2 separate regions of the Homo sapiens genome follow, and region 2 is linked to region 1. Evidence: promoter capture Hi-C in 16 types of primary human blood cells and fetal thymus (Javierre and others, 2016). All regions are on one chromosome and are shown on one strand. Each heading gives the region's core, a stretch centred on a gene start or on the middle of the fragment in contact. The rest is flanking DNA. Distances are from core to core; before and after follow the strand shown. Region 1 holds the start of PHF21A (PHD finger protein 21A). Region 2 holds the start of MAPK8IP1 (mitogen-activated protein kinase 8 interacting protein 1).

The links. The method cuts DNA at HindIII sites, captures the fragments that hold promoters and counts their contacts. A CHiCAGO score of 5 or more calls a contact.
Region 2: the fragment with the promoter of MAPK8IP1 here is called in contact with the fragment with the promoter of PHF21A in region 1 in 1 of 17 cell types (naive B cells); the score reaches 7.8 in naive B cells.

What each region holds. Positions count from the first base shown.
Region 1 is chr11:46,117,266-46,123,084 of GRCh38, reverse strand. It overlaps PHF21A (PHD finger protein 21A), which reads left to right and starts at 1,631. Exons shown (of 19, transcript NM_001352027.3): 1 at 1,631-2,150. LOC105376661 (a long non-coding RNA gene) reads right to left here and starts at 940. Exons shown (of 3, transcript XR_931252.4): 1 at 1-940. RefSeq lists silencers at 799-1,108, 1,549-1,608, 3,022-3,101, 3,172-3,231, 3,415-3,572. The HindIII fragment of the contact is 5,748 bases long and covers 274-5,819 here.
Region 2 is chr11:45,883,381-45,889,506 of GRCh38, reverse strand. It overlaps MAPK8IP1 (mitogen-activated protein kinase 8 interacting protein 1), which reads right to left and starts at 3,856. Exons shown (of 12, transcript NM_005456.4): 1 at 3,586-3,856. The coding sequence starts at 3,686. RefSeq lists a silencer at 3,595-3,994. The HindIII fragment of the contact is 6,698 bases long and covers 1-5,704 here.

The sequences.
Region 1 (5,819 bases), core at 382-2,881:
TGCCTGGAAAATGCGTAGTGGCAGTTGCTACAAAAGTGCTGAGCTTTAAAAACAAAACCCCCCACCCCCCCATTTGTATTCAGTTGAGGTTGGGGTTTATTGTTATTTAACATTCGAAGGCCAACACTATGTTAAGTCCAGAGTGCTGCACAGATCAGATAATATCACTGTCCAGTAGGGGTTTTTTTTAATCTAAGATTTTTTACTTTTAAAAAATTTATTGTGGTTGGGGGTTTAGAATCCGGTAATACATCCATACAAAAACGTTAAGCTTCAAGTTGAAAACTATCGATTCGAAAATCTAAATAAACCCCCTCCAAAAAAAAAAAAAAAGGCCCTCCCCCGCCCCGCCAAGAAATCTCTCAAAACAAGAATTCTTCTGATGTTTTTCTCCTCCCTGCAATTCTCCATGTTACAGTCCTTGGAGGTAGAATAGGCATAAAATACTTTCACTAATAAAATATGACAAACCGCCGGATTATACGTGGCCGATTCCCAGTGATTGCCCTGCTACACAAAGCAGAAAAGTAAATGCCATCATCCCCCTTAGAACAAAAGAACTTAGGAATAAAAAACATGGAGAGGGGGGAGAAAGCAGCAATAAATAAAGGTGAGCGAAGGCCCCCGTCCCCCGCCCCTCCCGGGAGCGAGTGCTGGACTAAGTACTGCTAATAAAGTGGTTCAAGGGTAGTTATTTGGAAAGGGGGCGGGGTGGCGAGGGGAGGGAGCGGGCGAGCGGCGGCCGGGGATTGCATGTTGCATTCGACTTGAGGTTGCATCTTTCTCCTGTTGCCTGGACCACGCTCCCCCATTGCAGTGCTTCCCCATCACTTCTCCTCGCTCCTGCCCCTCACGGCTTTCCCCCCCCCCCTTCAAACTGCTGTTGCACTGGAGGGAGTTGGGGCCGCTCTGGAGCCCCTTTGCAGCTCCCGCCGGCGGGAGGGGGGAGTTGGGCTCGGGCCGCGGAGTTGGGGGGGCCGCCGCGGGCTCCGGCCTCGCCTCGGCTGCGGCTGCACGGGAGCCGAGCTGCGGCGCTGCACGGGCCCCGGAGTTTGGCTGCCTTCGCCGCCGCTCGGTGCTCGGCCCCATCACCGCCGCCGCCGCCGCCGCTGCACTGGAGTTTGGCTGCCGCTGCCCTACTTCACTCTAGTTTAGTTTCACTCACTTTACATCCGGGTTTTTTCCCTAGGCAATGGGTGCCGCAGCACACCCCGTTCCTTAGGCAAAGTGAAATAAATTCGCCGCACCGACACGTCAAGTAGTCCGCCCGCCCGAGCGCCGCCGCGGGCCCCCGTCGCCCCCCCCGCCGACGCCCCACCGCCCCCGGTGGGGGGACCCGAGCGTCCCGGGAGCCGCGGGCCGAGGCGCGGGGGCCCGGGCCGGCCGCCGTACCACTCCGCCCGGCGGCCCCCTCCCTCCCCGCCGCGGCCCGCTCTCCCCCGGCGCCTCCTCTCCCCTCGCCCTCGTCCCCGCTTTCCCAGCCCCAGTCCCTCTCGCCCGGCTCTCGGGAGCGGCGGGGGCGCGCACGGCGGCGGCGGCGGCGGGCCGGCGGGGCCGCGCGGCGGGCTCCCGCGCGGGCGAGTGTGTCTGGGCCTGGGCGGAGGGATCCCCGGGCTGAGGCGGCGGAGGTGCTGCGGCCCGGGGCCGGGTGGTGAATGGGCTGGTGGTGCTCGCTGCTGCTGCTGAGAGGAGGAGGAGGATGAAGAGTTGGGCTTGTTTGTCTCCTACAGTTTCTCTCCTGCTGCTCTGATTCCCCCCTCCCGATTCCGGCCCGGGGCCTGTGTGTGTCCCTCCTGGAGGAGGAGGAGGATCCAGTTCCTCCCCCCAACCCCCTCCTCCCCACCCCCCCTTGCCTGGGGAAGAGGAGGAAAGAAACAGCCCAGAGAGAGAGAGAGAGAGAGAGTGAGTGAGAGAGAGAGGAGAGGAGAGGAGGAGGAGGAGGAGGGAGAAGGGAACAACCTACCATCTTAACACACTAATATCTAAAAAGTGCGAGAGGCCCAGAGCAGCAGCAGAAGCAGCAGCAGCAGCTCCAGCTTCTTCCCTCCCTCCCCATGAAGAAGAGTTCCCTCCTCCTCCTCCTCCTGCTTCTCCTGCTCAGAGTTCCTGCCTCCAGCTGCCAGGGGGGACAGCCAGCCAGCAGCAGGAGGGTGCAGTATCCCAGCTTTTCCATTCTCTCTTCTTCTCACTCTCCTCTCTCTCTTTTTTTCTGGAGTAGCTCTATTTCCCCTCCCTCCCCCTTCCCCCTCTGCCTCTCTCCTCTCTCCCTCTGTCTTGTCGCTGGTGTTTGTCTCTGGGAGGATCAGGGGCTGCCTGCTTGGAGTTTGTTGTGGGGGGAGGTAGGGGGAGGGGAGGGGTGTGTGGGAGGGAGGAGGGAAAGGGGGGTGTTCTCGTCAGGACCCCTCAGTCAACTTGAGATTTGAGCAATAACTTCCCCTTCGGGGCGCCCCCCTGCGTGCCCTTCCCATACCTCCCCCCCGAAAAAAAAGACAATGGGAAAACCTTGGCTCCCCCCCCTCCCCTCTGCCCTCCACCCCTCCCCAGGATAAATTGGAAGTAAGTTTATGAGCAGCCTCGGAAGCCTGGGCGCAGAGTGCAGGGCCGGAGCCGGTGACAGAGGCGGCGTGCCGGGGGCGGCGGGGAGGGGGCGTCACATTGTCCCGGCGGGGGGCCGGCCGGGGGCTGCGGGCGGGGGCGGGGGGCACGGAGCCTCGCCCGCCCCCCCTCGGCTGTCCCTCGGCCGGGGAGGTAGCTGGGGCTCCTCCATCCCCCCCACCCCACCCCGGGATGCTGTCGGGGGGAAGTTTTTATTATGATTATTTATTTAATTAAAAAAAATTTTTTTTTGGAAAACCATCTTGTTTGTTGACTGAGGGATCTGGTTTAAAAAAAAAAAAGCTGCGGCTGCTGACGCTGCCGGGCCCCAGTGTGTGTGTTTGTGTGTGTGTGAGTGTGAGTGTGTTGGTGCATTTGTCTTGGGTGGCCGGAGCAGCGTTGGGGAAATTCCGCTTATTCTTCTTCTTCTGCAACTTGTTATTCCGGAGAGTCTGCCTGCACCCCTCACCCCGGGGCCGGCCCTCCCGCATTCGCCCCCGCCGCCGGCGGCCGCGGGGCGCCCCCGGGACCCCGAGCGGGCCGGGGCGGACAGGCCGCTCCGAGAGGGGCCGCGGCCGCCCCTCCCCCGCCCGCGCCCCCGCCGGGGGGAGGGGCGCGCGGAGTGGGACTCTTTCCGTTTGGTCCAGCCCCGTCGTGCACGCAGTTCCCAACACTTCTCGTCATCCTCTCTTTGGTCTCTTTATTCTGCTGAGCGGTGCTGTTAGGATTTCTTTTTTTTTTTTTTCCCCTGACCACGTTCGCGATGGTGGGTAGCAGCAAGGTGGCCCTGGTAGGGGAGGGGTTGGTATCGAGATTGGGCACCGGAGGAGAACGCCTTCTTTCAACTTTGTCTGTGGCTTGCACCCCCGGAGAAGGCCACAGGCCGGTTGTCGGGTGCAGATGTGCCGAGAGTGATTTCTAAGTAGTTGAGTTGTTGTGATGAGGGTACGACTGCTAATGGTCGGCAGGTTTTGTTTTCATTGGTGAATCTGGTGTCATCATATTCCGGTCATATGTTGAAATATTCTTTGTTTAGGTCTGGAAGTAGAGGATCTCACTCTGCACGTCCACATTGTGTTGTTTTTAAAATGATGTCTCTGGGAGTCTGGATTTCTAGAATTTCAAATCTGAGTGAAGGTCCGGGCATGTGTGGGCCTCATCACCTGGCCTTGACAGTGAACTTTGTGGCTGTGTTTCAGATTTCAAAGATTTGCCCCATAGCTGGGGAAGGAGTTGTGCATTTTTGCTAATAGTCGGTGTCAGGAATGTAGATGCTCGAGCTGGGAAAGTTAGAGAGGGAAGAACATTTATATATAAATAATGGATAGTTGAATATTAGAATCAGATTAATTTGGGCTGATGAAAGTTTTTTTTTTTTAAAGCAGTTGTGCACTCTGGGAAGGAAGTCTTTTCACAGGTTCACTTGATAGGGATTCTTTAAGGCGAGGGGCTGGAATTATCTCCTTTTTGAGCGAGTTCTCACCAACATCTGTAGCTTTATTGAGGGCCTGGTAAGGGTACTGAAATTGAGGCTAAACCATGTAAGCGTACTTTTCAGTGTTTATGATATTTGTTTACATCTGGTGTTCACTCTAAGCAATAGAAATAAATAGGTCAGCTTTGCTTTTGGTCTTTGAAGACTGGCCCCCTCCTTCCTTTTTTAAGTTTCACAATTTATTTGGTTTACAGCATTGTTGGAAACTGTTACTACATTTTTACTGGAAATACTATTATTCATTTTAATTTTGGTAAGTTCCTTCTTATTCTCTTCTTCTGTCTTTACTTGTTTATGGAATCGGTGTTGTGGGCTTAAAACTAGTTTATTTTAGGGGGTCATTAAAAATGTCTGAAAAATACATTTTCAAATCCCAGGACCTATCTTTTCATGGCAAAGAGGAAATTTTGTGTACAGTTATGCTAATGTTTATAAAAAAATTTCTGTACTTAAAACGTTTGTAGATGTACAACTATCCTTAAGTGAAGAGCATAGTAATAGTGCACAAAGTTCTCAAAACACAAACATCTGGCTAACATGTTACGAATATTCCAGGGGCTTTTTTTTTTTTTTTTTTAACATCAGACTTTTGCTTTTGGTAACATAATAGTATTTACAGTTTGACTGACATTGCTTGGCTGCCCATAATAAAGTGTTTTGCTTGGGTGCTATTGAATGCTTTTTAACTTAGTTTTTAGACAATTTTGCAGGCTTTATTTAAGCATGTTGTATTTTGGACTGAGGCAAGTCTTTGTGGAACTGGAGTAGTAATAGATGAAAAAGACACCTACCTGGGCTAAATTGTATTTTTAGAAGGTATAAGTGATGGATGGGGCCTATTTCTTTTAGCTTTGAAGGGTCCATCCTTTTTCCTATTCAGTCTTCTGGAAGGAGCTGCCTCTGAAATACTCTTCTTCTGCTTACATGAAGATCTCTAAATGCTATCCAGCAGGAGGTGCTACAGCAAGATAAAGGAAATTTTTGAATTTTGAGGGTCTTGCTACTTATTACAGCTCTGCTTAGCTTCAGCTAAGCAACAGGATTAACACCTTAAAGTTCCAGAAAGATTTTGAGTAAGTCCATTTAAAAATTCCATTCATAAATAATGTTTGCTACTTGAAAGTGAAGTCTTTGACTGTACAAAGTAGATGTGCGATTGCGGATAGTATAAGGATTCTGGCCCTTGGTACAGAGCACTGTTTAGAATTATTTTATTTGGAAGGGGAATTAGTCTTGTGTTGATGAGTGGGATGTTGAGCATGTATTTTAAAAAATTATTTGTAATTGTTATAAACAAAAGTAGTTGGTATGATTTAGGGCTTTAAGCCTTGTTATCATCCCTATAATATTAATACAAATAGGATATAGAGTAGTTGAGATTTTGGAAAGGGGTATAGTGTGTTGAAAAAATTTTAGACTTCTTGTAGTTTTTTCCCCTCGGATTTACAGACTATGATTCTAATATAGATCAATTTTTAGGCACTCGGCTTTATAAATACATATGGTTGATGTACTTAAGTTAGCCTGCAAAGACTGAGATTCTTGAACTGTAAGTCAAGTTGTATCAGTGGTAGGTCATTGTTGATGTAACAGTAACTGCATAAAGATGAATATAGCTACTTTAACAGTTTCATAGCATTTATAGCACATGGTCCTTTGAAACTCTGTTAGTGTTAGGTGAATTGATTATCACTGAAAATATCATGCCACTGTGGTTGCTTGTAAAGTT
Region 2 (6,126 bases), core at 2,607-5,106, 240 kb after region 1:
ATGTCTCCACTGTGTAAATTTCTAAATTCTCTTTTCTAGAGTTTTCTTTATAATGAACATGTATCACTTTAATTTTGAATTTTCTTTTATTATTTTGTAAGACACAGAAGTAACCTATACTCATTATAAAATAAGAAGTCAAATACAGGTGAGCAGCCCTAATCCAAAAACCTGAAATCTGAAATGCTCCAAAATCCTAAATGTTTGAGCACCAACATAACAGCACAGGCTGTAAATTCCACACCTGACTCCACATGACAGGTTGTAATCAAAACTTTGTTTCATGCACACAATTATTTAAATTATTGTATAAAATTACCTTGAGGCTATATGTATAAGATATATAAGAAAAAATCAATTTCATTTTTAGACTTGGGTTCCCATCCCCAAGCTATTTCGTTATGCATATGCAAATATTCCAAAATCCAAAAAAATTAGAAATCTGAAACACTTCTGGTCCAAAGCATGTCAGATCAGGCATACTCAACCTGTAATATAAAAGTATGACACTGGGCGTGGTGGCTCGAGCCTGTAATTCCAGCACTTTGGGAGGCTGAGATGGGTGGATCACCTGAGGTCAGGAGTTCAAGACCAGCCTGGCCAACATGTTGAAACCCCGTCTCTACTAAAAATACAAAAATTAGCCGGGCGTGGTGGTGGGCACCTGTAATCCCAGCTACTTGGGAAGCTGAGGCAGGAGAACCGCTTGAACCCAGAATACAGAGGTTGCAGTGAGCTTAGATCATGCCACTGCACTCCAACCTCCAGCCTGGGCGACAGAGTGAGACTCTGTCTCAAAAAAAAAAAGTATGTAAAATAAGAAGTAAAAATCCCTCACCCCATACCATACCCAAAGGTAACCAACCACTATAAACAGCTGGAGCTATAATCAGAACAAAAATTAACACGTATTTAACCTACCACAAACAAACGAATGCTCCCACCCCTTCAGGTCAGGTCCACATGCTCGCCCCCTCCGCACATGCTCTTCCAATACTCTAGGGCTCTTTCTTTTTGGGGTGGCTCTGACATCAGACTGCCTGCCACTTACAAGCTCTGCCACTTACCTAACCTCCCTCTGCCTCAGTTTCTTCATGCAAGTGTGGATAATAACAACGCTCTGTTGATACAGTTATTGGGAGGAGTAAATACTCTTGCACATAGGAAACTCTTAGAATGGTGCCTGGGCGAACTGAGTGCCTTCCAAATGTCAGCGCTTACCACTGTTATTGAGTAACTATCCCGTGCTGAGCAATGGGGATACCAAAGTTTGGGTACAGACCCCCTTTATTTTCTGGGAGCTGACAGTGGCACTGGGGGTCAAGGCGCCTGTGTGTGTGTGCACACACACAGCCCTGCCTACAGGCGGCTCTCCTCAGCCCTTGAAACACTCAACACGTGTTATCTCATCTGATTCTTAGGACCATCCTGAGCAGGGGCCAGTGCTGGCATCTCAGAGGCTCAGAGGGCTTAAGTGCCCAGTGTCAGGGCACACAGGTAAGAAGGGCCAGCCAGGATTCAAACCCAGGCCAGTTGGATCTATGACTCCACCAAAGAGCCACAAGAAAGCACTATCTACCCACCCAGGGTTAAGTGGAGCCTGGCCAAGCACAGTGAGAGGCGGGCCAGGAGAAAGGGCAGCGGGGGCTTTGGGAGCAGCGGGGCAGGCCGGCAGGGCCTGAGACACTGACGCTTATTATTCCCACGCACTGGCCTTGTCTCCGCAGCCAGGCCACCATGTTCTGGAGTGCTGGCCCACACCTCAGCCTCGTGGCCTACTGCCACCCTTGTCCCACATGCCGCAGAGCTGGCCACACATTCACTGGCTGGTGTCTGCTTCCTCAGCTCCTCTCATTAAAGCATCTATGACACCTGGGGAAGCAGGTCGAGGAAGAAAAGCTGCCCACTGGGCCAGAGGCAGGGCTGGGACGTAGAGTGGACTAAACACGCACAGACCTGGGTCCCAGTGTAGCCTTAGTCTCTGACTCTTTTGTAGTCTCCAGATGAGCCACCCTGCCTTTGTTAATCTCAATCACCTCATCTATAAAATGGGCAGGTCACTACCCTCTCTTGGGGCAGTTATGAGGGTTAAAGGAGGGGCCTTGGGAAGACACTCTGGACAGCAGCGAGCCGTAGTGTTGTCTGCTAGTGTGGGGGCTGACACTTGTTGAACACTGACCTGATGTGCTTTTTCTCCTTTCCAGGCAAGAATCAATATTAATTAGCCCACTTAACAGATGGCACCCAGAGAGGACAAAAACCTGCCTGGGTCATGCAGTTAGAAAGTAGTGGAGCTAGGATTTGAACCCAGGTCCCTCTAAGCCCCATGTGCTTCCACTGCAGAGGCCTCCAGGTGGGGAGGCAGTATTTGCATGGAGGCCTCATGCACCATGCCAGGTGGAGTCTCAGACCTCAGTCTAAGGCATTATCAGAGAGCTGCAGCCCTGGAGCCTTCAGGCCTGGCCTCCTCCATCTGGCCCCCTCTGGTCCTTCCAGCTCAGCTCAGGGCCTCAGGGAAGGTTTCTGAGTTTGATGATGCTATTAGAGATCCCCAGGGGTCTCTGCCCACCTGAGGACCTGGGAGCCAGTGACCCCTTGCTCCCAGGAGGGGCTGGCACCACAGCCCAGCTGGAGCCTGGCTGGGGTGGTGCCCCAGGAGAGGGGAAGGCGCCAGTTCTCGAGATGGGGAAACAATGGGGTATGTCTAAGCCTCCCTCTCTAGGCCGGGAGCAGTGACTTCGGCCTCTTCCTCCCCACCAACTAGGGTTCAGAATTATGGGGGAGGTACATCTATTCCTCCTCCACACAACACTCACCCCTCACTTCTCTGAAATGCATCGGGCCTAACACCAGATTGGGGGGTGGGGGTGGTGGAATAGGAGCTCAGGTCAGGGTTCTGGGTATTTACCCCAGCAGGGATCCCCTCGACACCCTCGCTGGCCCTGGCTACTCCAGAGCCGAGCCGACTTCCCTTCCCGCAGCCGGGCCTAGGATTCCCCTGGTTGAGGCTGAGCCTTCAGCGCCTGCCCTGAGAGACACACCTGCCTAGGTCGGTGCTGCCCAATCCAGAGAGGGGCCCGGCCACGCCAGGCCTGGCAGGTAGGCCCATCTGGCCAGGCAGGGCTCGGGGAGGGGCTCAAACATCCTCCTCCCAGCACCAACAATGTCGTTGCCCCAGGAAACTGCGACCCGCGCCCCTCCAGGCTGTTCCCAGCTCTATTCACAGGCTAAGATGCAGCCTGCCTGCCCGCTCCGGGATCGCAACCCCGACCCCAGACCCTGCCGCAGCCCGGAGGTTGGGGAGAAGGAGGCCTCCGAGCCCCCTCCTCCAATTCCAGCGCAGACCTCCCAGCCTAGGACCAGGAATGGCGGAGGGAACAGCCTCGTGAACATGCAACGGCTACCAGTCCGGACTTGAGGCTGGCGGGGCTTCTGAGGGGGGCTCTGTCCCGGGAAGAGACCCCACTCCCACGCAGCCCTTTCGTTCCCGGGTTCCCGAGGTTCTGGGGTGGGGGGCGGGCAGGGCAGCCAATGCGGATCAGTCCCCGCTGAAGGGCGAGGCGCGCGGCGGCCGGGGACTCTCACCTGAAATTGGGAGGCGAAGCGATGTGCAGCCCCAGGAACGGGGAGGCGGCGGGCGGGGACGCGGCCCCCCCTCCCAGGCCGCCGCTTTCTCGCTCCGCCATTCTCGGGCACAGCCCTGGCCATCCGGGCGGAGCGCGGCGCGGAGGAGGCGGCGGCTGCGAAGGAGGCGGAGGCGCGGCGAGAGGGCAGCCGCCGCCGCGGAGTTCGGGCTAGGCGGGCGCACCTGTGTCTGGCAGGGCGCGGCACAGCACCGCGCACGGCCCGCGGGACTGGCGAGAGCGCCCCGCGCGCGCCCCCGGGACCCGGCCGGGGTCTCGCGCGCCCCGCCCAGGCCCCGCCCCCACCCCGCCAGCCCCGCCCCCGGAGATGGCGCTCTCCGCGGTGCTGAAGCCACGGCCCCCGCGGCCCTGGGCTTGGTTCAGCCCCGCCCTAAATCCGACATCGACTCTCCTCCACCCCGTGGCCGGTGTGGGCTTTGTCCCTCCGGTTGGGCTTAGTGCCCGGGTATCAGATGACTAATGGCAGGACACTGGACCCCAAGGTCCAGGTTGGCCCCCCGCAGCAGAGACCAAGAAGGCAGGCGGAAAAGGAGGGTCGTGGAGGAAGGCAGAGAAAGGAGAGGATGTCAGTGGGCTCTTAAAGTGTACAGGTTTGGAGTCAGGTGGTGTGAATTCACTGGCTCCACAAGTGACTGGGCAGTGGGGCCTTGCATTAGTGACTTCAGAGCACTAAGGTTTGGTCTTCTTATCTGTGAAATGGGACAATAGCAGTCCCTCTCATGGTTGTTGTGAGAATGTAACGTAACACAAATGTGTTGCCTGAGACCCAGAAACACTCCACCTCCTGCGCTGGGATCCAGCCCTCACCCCAGTCCTGTCCCTTTACCTTGAGGGGACCCTCCCAAAGACTCTCCCTAGAGGCTGTCTTCTCTAAAGATTGACCCAAATCTCTCTTCAGCCCCAAACAGCTACTCGTGGTGAATTGAGCCCTCCAGGCTTCTCGGTCTCTCGCCAGGACCTTCCCAGCATTCTCCTTCTTAGCGCCTCAACTGCATTTCCTGCAGAGCACCCCTCTTCTGCACCCACAGACACACATTCTAAGACTTGGCGCCTTTCCCTCTCCTCCCACTGTTGACTTCTTGGGATCATTTTGGTTGTTTCTGTTCCCTCTGGCACCTCCATCCCTGCTAGGCTTTGGCCATGGCTTCTTCCTCATTGTCTCTCCCTCGAGAGGGTGTTATTCCTGGGCTTCCAGGCCTTCAAGTCCCTGAGTTTCCCGATTGAGTTATTTCAGAGTACGGACTGCCAAGGCTAGGGCCTTAGCTTTGCTGGGTCGTAGAGCCTCTGGTCAAACCTCATTGGCTTCTCTGGTCTCTCGAGAGAACCCTAGAGACCCTGTCCACAGGGCAGAAAACGTGCAGAGCAAACTGTGCCACAACTCGTGGAGTCCTATTTGCAAATCTGGACTGCCGACCAGTCATGCTGGCCCCTTTCCTTCAGTGCGGCACCTAGCAAGGAGCTGGAGGCACCTTCCGTGCAGAAGGCAACCTCCGACCACCAGCCCTGAGAATATCCCAATACCTAGAGCCAAAGGTCATGGCTGCTTCTCTTTTCCCTGTCCCTGGGGCCCAGAGGGGTGGCCACTACTTTCTCAGCTTTCGTGATCAGGCCCCTTTCACTGGGCCCTCACGGTAATCATCTGCTGCCATGGTGCCTGGCTTTTCCTCTCAGGAAAGCAGTCTTGCCATCATGGCTACTAATCGTTCCTTAGAATGTAGACCTGCCTCAGCTAGGGAACATCCTTAGCAGGTCAGGGGTGGATGTAAAGGACAACTCCCTCTTCCAGAACCTTTTGCTCAAGAGCAAAGTTATCTTAGCTCCAAAGACCAACCCAAAGCCATTATTAGAGAGAAGCCAGAAGGGCAAGAAGGAAAGGCAGGCCCAGGTCTTGGTATGAGGGAGGCCAGCAGGAGCTTCAGAGCAGAGCCAAGAATGAGACAAGTTCCCAAGGCAGGTTCCTCCCCTTTTCTCCTTCTTCACTCTGTGCAGGCCAGACTGTGATATTCTTGGGCCTTGCCTGGGCCCCTTCCCAGAAAGTTGGGGTGTGAGCTAATAAAGCTTTCAGTCCAAGGCTAGCATCCCCTAGCATGGAAGCAGGGCACACTGCACAGAGAGGGGCCATTCTCTGGCCAGGAGACAAAGCCAGCATCCAGGCGCCCTAGGCTTGGCTGTGGGCAGATCTCAACCACCTAGTCACAGCCAGAGAGCCTGCATCCCCTCCTCACCACAGGCTGCAGCTTAAGTGGCTGCATTGAATTAAAGGATGGATTGAGGGCGTGGAGCAGGCCCTGCACTGACTGACCCCCAGCCTGGGAGGGGGTTTAAGTGGGCTGCAAGGCTGGGTGGCACTGCAGGATGGCACTTAGGACCCTCACTCTGGGCCAGAGTGCTCTGTACTATTTTGGCCAATTGACCCCCAACTCTTGACCAAGCTCTGGACCAACTCTTGACCAAGCTGCTCCAGTCTGCTCTGGCTGCTCCC